Regions from separate parts of the Homo sapiens genome. Here region 1 is linked to region 2. Evidence: promoter capture Hi-C in 16 types of primary human blood cells and fetal thymus (Javierre and others, 2016). All regions are on one chromosome and are shown on one strand. The core of a region is centred on a gene start or on the middle of the fragment in contact, and the rest is flanking DNA. Distances in the headings are between cores, read along the strand shown.

The links. Contacts are between HindIII fragments. The CHiCAGO score rates a contact against its expected background, and 5 or more counts as called.
Region 1: a contact is called between a fragment that was not itself captured here and the fragment with the promoter of CNTNAP4 in region 2, in 1 of 17 cell types (megakaryocytes). The highest score is 5.5, in megakaryocytes.

Annotation. Positions count from the first base shown.
Region 1 is chr16:77,172,172-77,177,470 of GRCh38, reverse strand. No RefSeq gene overlaps it. Among named protein-coding and RNA genes, the nearest start is that of MON1B, 16 kb to the left of the region's middle. The HindIII fragment of the contact is 6,600 bases long and covers 1-4,777 here.
Region 2 is chr16:76,274,341-76,279,082 of GRCh38, reverse strand. CNTNAP4 (contactin associated protein family member 4) reads right to left here and starts at 1,682. Exons shown (of 24, transcript NM_033401.5): 1 at 1,336-1,682. The coding sequence starts at 1,420. The HindIII fragment of the contact is 3,956 bases long and covers 449-4,404 here.

The sequences.
Region 1 (5,299 bases), core at 228-2,727, 900 kb before region 2:
GAGGTGAGGGGTAGTTGGAGAGGGAGTGGTTAATGCCTACAAGGTTTTATTTACACAAGGTAAGTTCTGGTGAGCTGCTATACACGATAAAACCTACAGCTAACAATATTGTATTGTATGCTTAAAATTTGCTAAAAGGGTAGGTGTTGTGTTCTTACCACCAAAAATAATAATAATAAAGAAGACAGGAGGAAATTTTGGGAGGTGATGGATATATTTGTGCCTTGGTAGTGGTGAGAGTTTTATGGGTATATACTTATCCCCAAACTCATCAAGTTGTATACTTAAAAATGAACAGCTTTTTATATGTTAAAACATATTTGAAAATGAGTATACATTAACTTTAAATAACATAACAATAATTAAATCCTACATTAAACAATGCTGGTTTTCAATAATGTTTGAATAATGTTACTTGTCTATGACATTAATTCCTACTCTAACCCTTTGCCATCATCATGGATAATTCAGAATTGACTAACTCACTTAAATGTTTTCTTTCATTGGATACTTAAAGGATAGTAAGAATAATAACACCACTGCCACCACCACCACCATCAATCCATCGAACCAATATTGTGTAATATAGAGAGAATGTCTGATATATATACATTATGTTATATATTATGTATATATTACATATATACATTATCTTATATAATATGTACATATATTACATATAGATACATTATCTTGTTTCATCTCCAGAACAACCCTTTGGAATGGATATAGCCAACCCATTTTAGAGTTGAAGTACACAGATGTTTAGAAAGTTTAAATTATTTAGCCAAGTCAAACTTGAATTCGCATGTGAGATTTCATGCCACCCAATCCCACGCCTTATCTACTATTCCTCCCCACTTTAGCTCTCCCTTACAGTGTTCCTATTAAAATGCAAAAACATGAGCAATTTCCAGGCCACAATTATCTCAGTATTCTTTTGGATAAATCTCATCTGGCCACCAAAAACTTAGACGGTGTAAATTGCAGCATTCATCATGCTAGGTGTTGTATGACACCTAGCATGTGTATGACACCCTCACATGACGGGTGAGTAACTTTGTCTTCACAGGTCTCCAGATCTGTTTCCCTGTGGAAGTAATGAAGCCCGTCAGTATCATCACTCTTCAAAGAATTAGGAAAGAAGAAGGAGCACAAAACCATTTCCAAGTTACCTGCTGCCAGCAAAATAAGATTTGAATAGGTTTTCTAATGTTTCAAACTACTTCCTTTCAGACGGCTAAGAAATTCATAAAACCAGCCATGAGAGTTATATTGCCTGCAAGTGTAAACAGTTTTGATAGAGGAGTAACTGCCTACTCAGAAAGCCTTTTGAGAAGAGACTGATACGACTTTATACATCTCAGAGAGAGGGAAGAGGGCCTTTTTGATCATTCTCATGCAAATTTCCAATAGCTGACAGAAAGCTGCTTTAGGTTGTCCCATATTTTCTTTTTAAAATGCATATGGAACGCGTAGCTTAGAAGTAATGCTTTCCTTTTGAAGATTTTTTTTTCTTAAATTTGAAACAATTATGGGTGTTAGACTTTTCCTCTTTAAATAGATATTTTCCTTATAACTTTCCCCCTGGAAAATTCCTTTATCATTAAGACAACAAACCAATGCAATTGACTTCTGGATTTGTTTATCGGAATGGGTCAAAGTCACTTCTTCCTTCACTCCATCTTGTATGTAATCAGAAAAAAGAAGCCCATAGCATCAGCACTATCTGCCTCATTTCTCCTTCTTTGGATTTCAATAGAGACACACTTAATGGTCTCCTGAGTCAGCTGAAGGAGGTAGAAAGTTGCTGTTTAGAATCTTCTTTTTAAAAAATATTTTAACATATATATATGATATCACATATATCTTATTTCGATAGCTTTTGGCCCCCAAATGGTTTTTGGTTAAGTGGATGAATTATACAGTGGCGAGTTCTGAGATTTTAGTGCACCCATCATCCGAGTAGTGCTTGTTCTATCTACTATGTAGTTTTTTATCCTACATCCCTCTCCCACCTTCTTCCGAGTCTCCAAAGTCCATTAAATCACTCTGCATGCCTTTGCATCTTCATAGCTTAGCTCCCACTTATAAGTGAGAACATATGGTATTTGATTTTCCATTCCTGAGTTTCTTCACTTAGAATAATGGCCTCCAGCTCCATTCGAGTTGCTGGAAAAGACATTATTTCATTCCTTTTTAGGGCTGAGTAGTATTCTATGATGTATATATGCCATATTTTCTTTATCCACTCATGGGCCAATGGGCACTTAGGTTGGTTCCACATCTTTGCAGCTGTGGATTGTGCTACAATAAACATATGAGTGCATGTGTCTTTTTTTTATATGGCTTCTTTTCCTTTGGGTAGTGGGATTTCTGGATTGGATGGTAGACCTACTTTTAGTTATTTAAGTAATCTCCATACTGTTTTCCATAGACGTTGGACTAATTTACGTTCCCACCATAGACATTTCTCAAGAAGACATACAAATGGCCAAAAATCATATAAAAAATGCTCAATATCACTAATCATCAGGGAAATGCAAATTAAAACCACAATGAGATTCCATCTTACTCCTACAAAAACGGGCATTATTAAAGAGAGTCCTCTTTGGTCGGGTGTGGTGGCTCACGCCTGTAATCCCAGCACTTTGGGAGGCCAAGTCGGTGGATCAGGAGGTCAAGAGTTCGAGACCAGCCTGGCCAACATGGTGAAACCCCGTCTCTACTAAAAATATGAAAATTACCTGGGCGTGGTGGTGGACTCCTGTAATCGCAGCTACTCGGGAGGCTGAGGAAGGAGAATTGCTTGAAACCAGCAGGCAGAGTTTGCAGTGAGCTGAGATCGCTGGCCACTGCACTCCAGCCTGGGCGTAAGAGCAAAACTCCGTCTCAAAGACAAACAAACAAAAATTCTTCTTTTGTTTAATTATCTGTGACCTATTTCTCCAAGCACAGTCCCTTCTGTGTAGCCTCTGATTCTCTGACCACTCTGATGGGTCATTGTCAGGTGAAGTGGGATCTCTTACTGGTAGTATTACTCCAGCTCTCTCCTCAGTTTTCTGAAATAATGGTATGATTCTGTACCCTACAAGTGGTATTCCCCAGTCAGATAGGGAGCAGGAGTGCCTTTGCTCAAGCCCTTCCTCCGGGATGGGGTACTCCTCTCCTTCCAAATAAATATTACAAGTACAGCTTCAATGCTGCCTCCTCTACTGACAGAACTCGTTCTCTCCAGCAGGCATCTCAGAATTTTTCTGAACATTTGACAGACGTAATCATCAGGCCCAAAGAGGAGACTGGGACTTCACTGTTCTCTAATTATTTTTGGGTAACTTATATTTCATTGATTTTATTTTCTTATTATTAGAATACATATTTATTGGGGTCCTGTGGGAGATGATTGAAGATTTAGAGCCCACAGTCCCTGCCCTTAACAAACTTCCAGTTTTCTGGAGGATGCAGACAGGTCAACGTTTGCAGCTCAAAAGGATAAGTCTACTTAAATTCAAGTTGTTCCAAATGGAAACTCATCTCCTTTTCCCAAACTTGTTTCTTCTCTTAATGTTACCAGAAGTTAGTCCCACAGTGACTTATGTCCCTCACCTTGGGGTCACCCTTGTCTCTGCCTTCTCCCACATACCTAGGTCCAATTATTAATGATCAACTCAGTACTCTCAGAACTTGGATGAGTTCTTAGAGTAAACCACACTGTCTCTTCTGCCTGAGTATTCTCCATTAGTTTGGCAAAACTGGAAGAAAAGCATCTATGAAAACTAAGGTGAAACACATGGAAAGGTTGCTTGGAACCCACATGAGCTATAGATTTTATTAGTATTATTATTATTTTAAATTGCAGAAAACCCAACTTGAACTGCCTTAAACAATGAAAACACTTCATTGGTGAGTTGAAAAGAAGGTGAGGGCAATCTTCAGGTGAGGGTTGATCCAGGGCTCCAATGATGTGGCCAAGATTCAGTTTCTTTCTTCATTCCTTCCTCTTCTTCCTTGATGTATACTCCATTTTCTAGCAGTTTCTCCCTCCAGGTCTCAAGAGGGCTCTAGCTGCTTCTGTGGCTACATATGTCTTGCTTTAAGTCCAGAAGGGATGGGAGAGAATCTATTTCTCAGAAGTCTCAGTGGAAATCTCATTGACTCTGGTTAGATATGTGTCCATGCCAGAACCAATCACTATGGCCAGGAAATGATTCATTTAGAATGGGCCAAGGCAATGAAGGTTCACCCTGGGCTTGAAAGTGAGGCCAAGATCACTCAAGTCATCATAAGGAGTAATTGTCCAAAGGAAGTTCAGGTTGTTGCAGCTGCTGGGAATCTGAATGCCCAGGAAGCAGGAAATAAATTTCTCTCATAGGCCCTGATCAAAGAATGCCAGGAACAGCATGATACAGTTTTAGACTGAAGGATGGTGGCAGGAAGCCAGTGGAATCTTTGGGTAGAAGTATGGCAAACTTGAAAATTGCTAAGAGAGTAGATTTTAAGTGTTTGTATTGCAAAAAAAAAAAAAAAAAGAAATGTTAAGTATGTGAAGGTAATGCATATTTAATTAGCTTGATTTAGCCATTTCACAATATCTATACATATATCAAAACAGCATGTTGGACACCATCAATATATATAATTTTTATTTGTCAATTAAAAAGAAGAATGAAAAAGATTATTCTCTCCTGATTTTTGGATGGAATAACGATGAAAGGAAAGAGATTTTAGAAGCAGGTGGGATGCTAATGAGAATATGTCAGTCCTTCGAATAAAAGCTTGGGAGGACTTAAGCCATTTCTGTGGCACGGAGAATAGAAAATTGCGATTTAAATAAACCCCATCAAATAGATTACTGTCCATTATCAGTGCGATAAAACCTTTTGAGAATTTGTCAAGGAGTATCTACATATTTGAAATAAACAACTTGCTCATTGATAATCTGCATTTTACTTATGGACTTTAGGATAAATGAAGCCATGATTCATACAGTCTCTACAAGGAAATTGAAAAGGAAAACCTTCCCCAAGAGGAAGATGATGTCAGAAACATGATACTCAACTACCTTATCGCTGAGTTGTCCTAGGGAATAGCAACTTCGTTGTCTAGATGTTATAATTTCTCCTCGATTTACTTTAATTAATGAGGCAAGTATAGACATGCTTGTCCAAATAAAGATTTAAAATTGGAGGGACTCAGAACACCAGAGTATTAGAGCTAACAGGGACCCGCCAGTGTGATTTATCTTATAGATGAGAAAACAGGTTGGGGAAGGAAAAGAGACTTAGCTGGCAGCCACCCA
Region 2 (4,742 bases), core at 433-2,932:
TAATGCTACCATTATAAGATTCCAAGGTTTTGACTAGGTGAAATTATACATTTTATTGACTTATGAGATTATCACAACACTCAAACTAAAGTTGAATCTGATGTGCAGCACCTGAAGTGAGGTTCCTTCTTTCAGAGTGATGGATACCCTGTGACATTAAATGAGCCCATTCTGAACTGAAACACGAAATCACGGGAGCCAGGTACTGTGAGGGGACATTTGACTTGTGCCCATGAGTTTGTCATGTTTTTCACATATCAGAACTCTTAACATAGTCAAGTGATATGCCATAGCAAATGTCTGATTACTGCCTCTGTTCCCCAAATCTAAGCCTGATGATACAGCAGCAACATAAATTCCTGGACAGGCCTCATAGCCAGTTCTTGGAAAGCAAATGAGCTTTTCCTTTAAAATCCAAGAAAAAATAAAAAGTTGTATTTGCCAAGCTTGTTTGTCATTAATCAGGAGGGGAAAATTCTCCCATTTAGAGAATTTAAGCCAAAGATAACTTTTAAAACTTTTTCTATCTCTAATAAAGAGTGGATGAAGGGAGTCTGCCAAATTATTATGGATGATATCTAAATTATAAATAAGATTTCAATCTTCCCTAAATAGGTTCTATTTCATCAGAACATTCAATTACAAATTTATGCAGTTAAGCATTCAACCACAAAGGAATCCTACTTTTGAAAGACCACCTGACTGGTTTTCCTTTAAGCGAAATGTAGGAAGAGGCTCCTCTTTCCGGAGAGCGCTAAGTCTCATTCTCTTAGCAGCGAGGGCACAGCTCTTAATACTGAGACTCGCCTCAGCCAGTGCTGGTGCTCCTGAAGCCTGCAGTACATTTCAGTTATTAGCCTGCATTATTTTAAAGATGCAGGCAGCTACTGGTCTGCCCAATTGCAAACTTCAGAAATCTAAGCCAATGCAGCATAATGTAAAGTCTGCCAGTTGTTTTCCTCTTAGACATAATTCCAATAAAATTCAGTAGTTCTTTAAAAAAGAAGAAATGAAGATATTCACAGGCTATTCCCCCGATAAGATGCTAATTTCATGTTTTACTAGAACTTGGGCATTCTCAATGAATACTCAAAGACCAGAGGGTAAGATTCTGCGAGTAGACAAAAAGAGAAATGACACTTTGCCTATTTTGACCAGACCAAGAGGAGAGACAAGTGTTAACCGGTCACATTGGCAAGATTTTTAAGTGATGCTTGGTTTACAGCAATACGCTTTGCAGCAATCCCAGCTGCAAATAATCATCATCAAACCAACAGAATCAAAGTTTTGCAGAGAGCCCCCCAGCAAGTTTTAAATCATTTGCTGTATACTTACAGGAATTCCCAGCTTCGACTCTGTTCCAATTTTGAGTAGATAACAGAAGTAGCGTCTTGAGGACAGCTCCCGTGACAGATCCCATGTTCACATTTATTGGGCTCCCCCAAAAGATCTTGAGAGGCTCTCAGAGCGCTCCAGTCCTCTTCTCAGTAGCTCTGCCAGCTCTGTCTGGGTCTTCAGCCCCTCTAGGTCTCTGTCTCTCCCCCTCCCTTCCTCCTCACCTCCCTCCGTCTTTTCTTCTTCCCTCCTCCCTCTCTTCTCTCTCCCTCTCTCTCTCCCCGTCTCTGTCTCTCTCTTTTCTCTCTCTCTCTCACACACACCTCCCTGACTCCTCACTGAAAAGCACTCAGCATCTTTCCTAACAAGCATCCACACCGCCGAGGCCACGCCCACTCCTCGCAGCAGCGGTCCCACAAATTGGCAGCAGCATCCTTCCTTCCAAACACACAACAGCGCTCGAGCTCCGCTGCACCCAGAGGCGCGGCCTCCCGTTCGTGGGCCTCCTTGGGGCTCCCTCCCTTCTCTTCTATTTTCCAATAATCCTTAACCCTTTTCTCCCAGCTGGAGGTGTGAGTGGGGGAAGGGACAAGGCGGTGGAGCCTTCTGATTTTCTGGAGGTCTTGCATTTGCAAGAGCCAGAAAACACACTGAGCCATTCCTGATTATCCGGGAGTGCATCCAGGTAAAATTGCATTATGTTTCAAAACAAAAGCATAAAATAAGACAGAAATAACTAAGCAGCATTGGGAAATTGTAGCTAAAACCGTCCTCAGGGAAAATACTTGCTGTTGTTTTTCTCTGTTTCTATAAAACTGTACTCTTCAGCGAGGGTGCCAGGATTTTATTATGGAAATTCCCCACATGGGAACAGACATTCCTGCTTAGCAGATATTTAAAATCATCTGGTAGTAGTCTGCAAGAAATTAACATTTCTTATTTTAATGCTTCAGGTGTATAAATCCACAAATGAAATGCTTTGGCTAGATTTATGTTGATGAATGCATCATGCTGTGAATATGAAGTACCATTCTATAATCAAAATTTTTAATAACATTTCCAAAAAGGCCCAAAGTAGGAAATGAGGGAATACTGAAGAAAGGGACCTCCACCACCACCACATACACACATGCATACACATTCACACAAACACTGAACAATGTGACGATGTAATTCAGGTGACTTAAAGGAGAGAGGAGTAAAGTTGAATTTGGAAGATCAATGATTAAAGAAAAATTACTCTTTGAATGGCTGGTCCATGGATACAACTGTTTCTTGAATGGAATTTTAAAATGTCTAAATAATGGAGTTACTATCACATAACAAGAAGCATGTCACATGGTTCATAGCAGATAAATAATCTATTTAAAATAAATGTCAAGATGTTTTACTGATAATGTGCTAGATTTTATACAAATGGAAATCCTGGAGTTCTTAAGTGCCTCTTGGTAATCACAAATTGGAAGAAACATAAGCCTTTAACACCACTTTCTTATGGAATAATGAGAGTGGGTTTGTCAAAGATCAGATAGGTTTGTCAAAGAGTGAGAAAATGACAGAAATACCCGTAAGAACTAAACATGCTTGTTTAGCTCATGCCTGCAAACAAAGCAGAATGCATCTTTTTTCTTTTCCTGTTTTACAAGAGAAAACAAGAACAGAGAATTTAAATGATTCGAAGAGGTCATAGAGTTAGTAATAAATGCTGAGGACTGGATTTGGCTTTTCTGACTCCAGTTTTACTGCTCTCACCCTAGGACTTATTGCCCCTAAATCAGAGTATACCTCCTTCCTGACCCTTGTCAGTGGCAGCAAAAACCTTAGGCCCTAGGAAAACACAGCAAACACTTTGGGAGGCCAAGGTGGGCAAATCACTTGAGGTCAGGAGTTCGAGACCAGCCTGGCCAACATGGTGAGATCCCATCTCTACTAAAAATAAAAAAAATAGCAGGGTGTGGTCGCAGGCAACTGTAATCCCAACTACTTGGGAGGCTGAGGCAGGAATTCGCTTGAACCCGGGAGGCAGAGGTTGCAGTGAACCAAGATTACACCACTGCACTCCAGCCTGGCCAATAGAGCGAGACTCTGTCTCAAAAAAAAAAAAAAAAAAAAAAAGGATAAATACAATAAAATAAAGAAAGGTCATGGGTTGAGTGTTTATTCTGTGTTCCTAGACTTGCATTCCTGATTTTATTTTTTCAATCATATGCTAAGTAAAAGCAGATATAAATTAACAGTTTATGTTAACTAATTATTGAAGGAGATTAAATTTTACTGAACACATACTATATGCCATTTGTTATCTAATTGAATAATTATATCAGTCCTTTGAAGAAAATATCATGTCTGTGGGACGGTTGTGGGCTCTCCAGAAGAAAAAAGTTGTCTCGTTGTTACAATATTGTATTTAATTGTTCTCTTAAAACAAATTAGAGAATGCATCTTAAATGGATAAGTACACATAGCAAAAATGAAAAATAAACATTTTATAACAATAATAACTTCTTTGGGACAATGTATAAATTATTATAGTGACCAATACTGGCGGATTTTTCCATATCAATGGGCTACAGTAATAGAAGGAATTGGGGGCTGGCCCTCAATAGAAGACCTGAGCATTTCAAGTCACTGCAAAACCTGTCTCTGCCTGATGGCTGCAGAGGGGTAGAGAGTTGCCTAGACAAATGAAACAGTGAGTGCTTGAGATATGGTAAACAGAGAGGCCTCAGCCGGGCGCGGTGGCCCACGCCTGTTATCCCAGCCCTTTTGGAGGCCGAAGCGGGCAGATCACGAGGTCAGGAGATCGAGACCATCCTGGCTAACATGGTGAAACCCCGTCTCTACTAAAAATACAAAAAATTAGCCAGGCATGGCGGCAGGCGCCTGTAGTCCCAGCTACGTGGGAGGCTGAGGCAGGAGAATGGCATGAACCCAGGAGGCGGAGCTTGCAGTGAGCTGAGATCGAGCCACTGCACTCCAGCCTGGGCGACAGAACAAGACTCTGACTCAAAAAAAAAAAAAAACAAAACAAAACAAAACAAAAAAACCAGAGCGGCCTTGATACAAGCTTCCACTGTTGTTTTGATTAAATGACTCAATGATGCTGACCTTTCGTTTATTTATTTTATGACCCGATAGGAGAATCATGACCAAAGAGTTACTGTGGTATAACATATGACAACTATTGAATGCCTTGTGCTTAGTGGGCCCTCACTTACTTCCCAGCTTTAGATCTCTGCATTAAAACTGTACAGAGAATTGGTCTAAGCAGGCAATGTCAGAGCTTGGCCACCCAGGTTCAGTGTCTGTACAGGTTCCACCACCCACTAGCTGCACGGCCTTGGGCAAGCTGCATCAGGATAATAATCCTTGATCCTTAATTTCCTCATCTGTGCACCAACGATGAG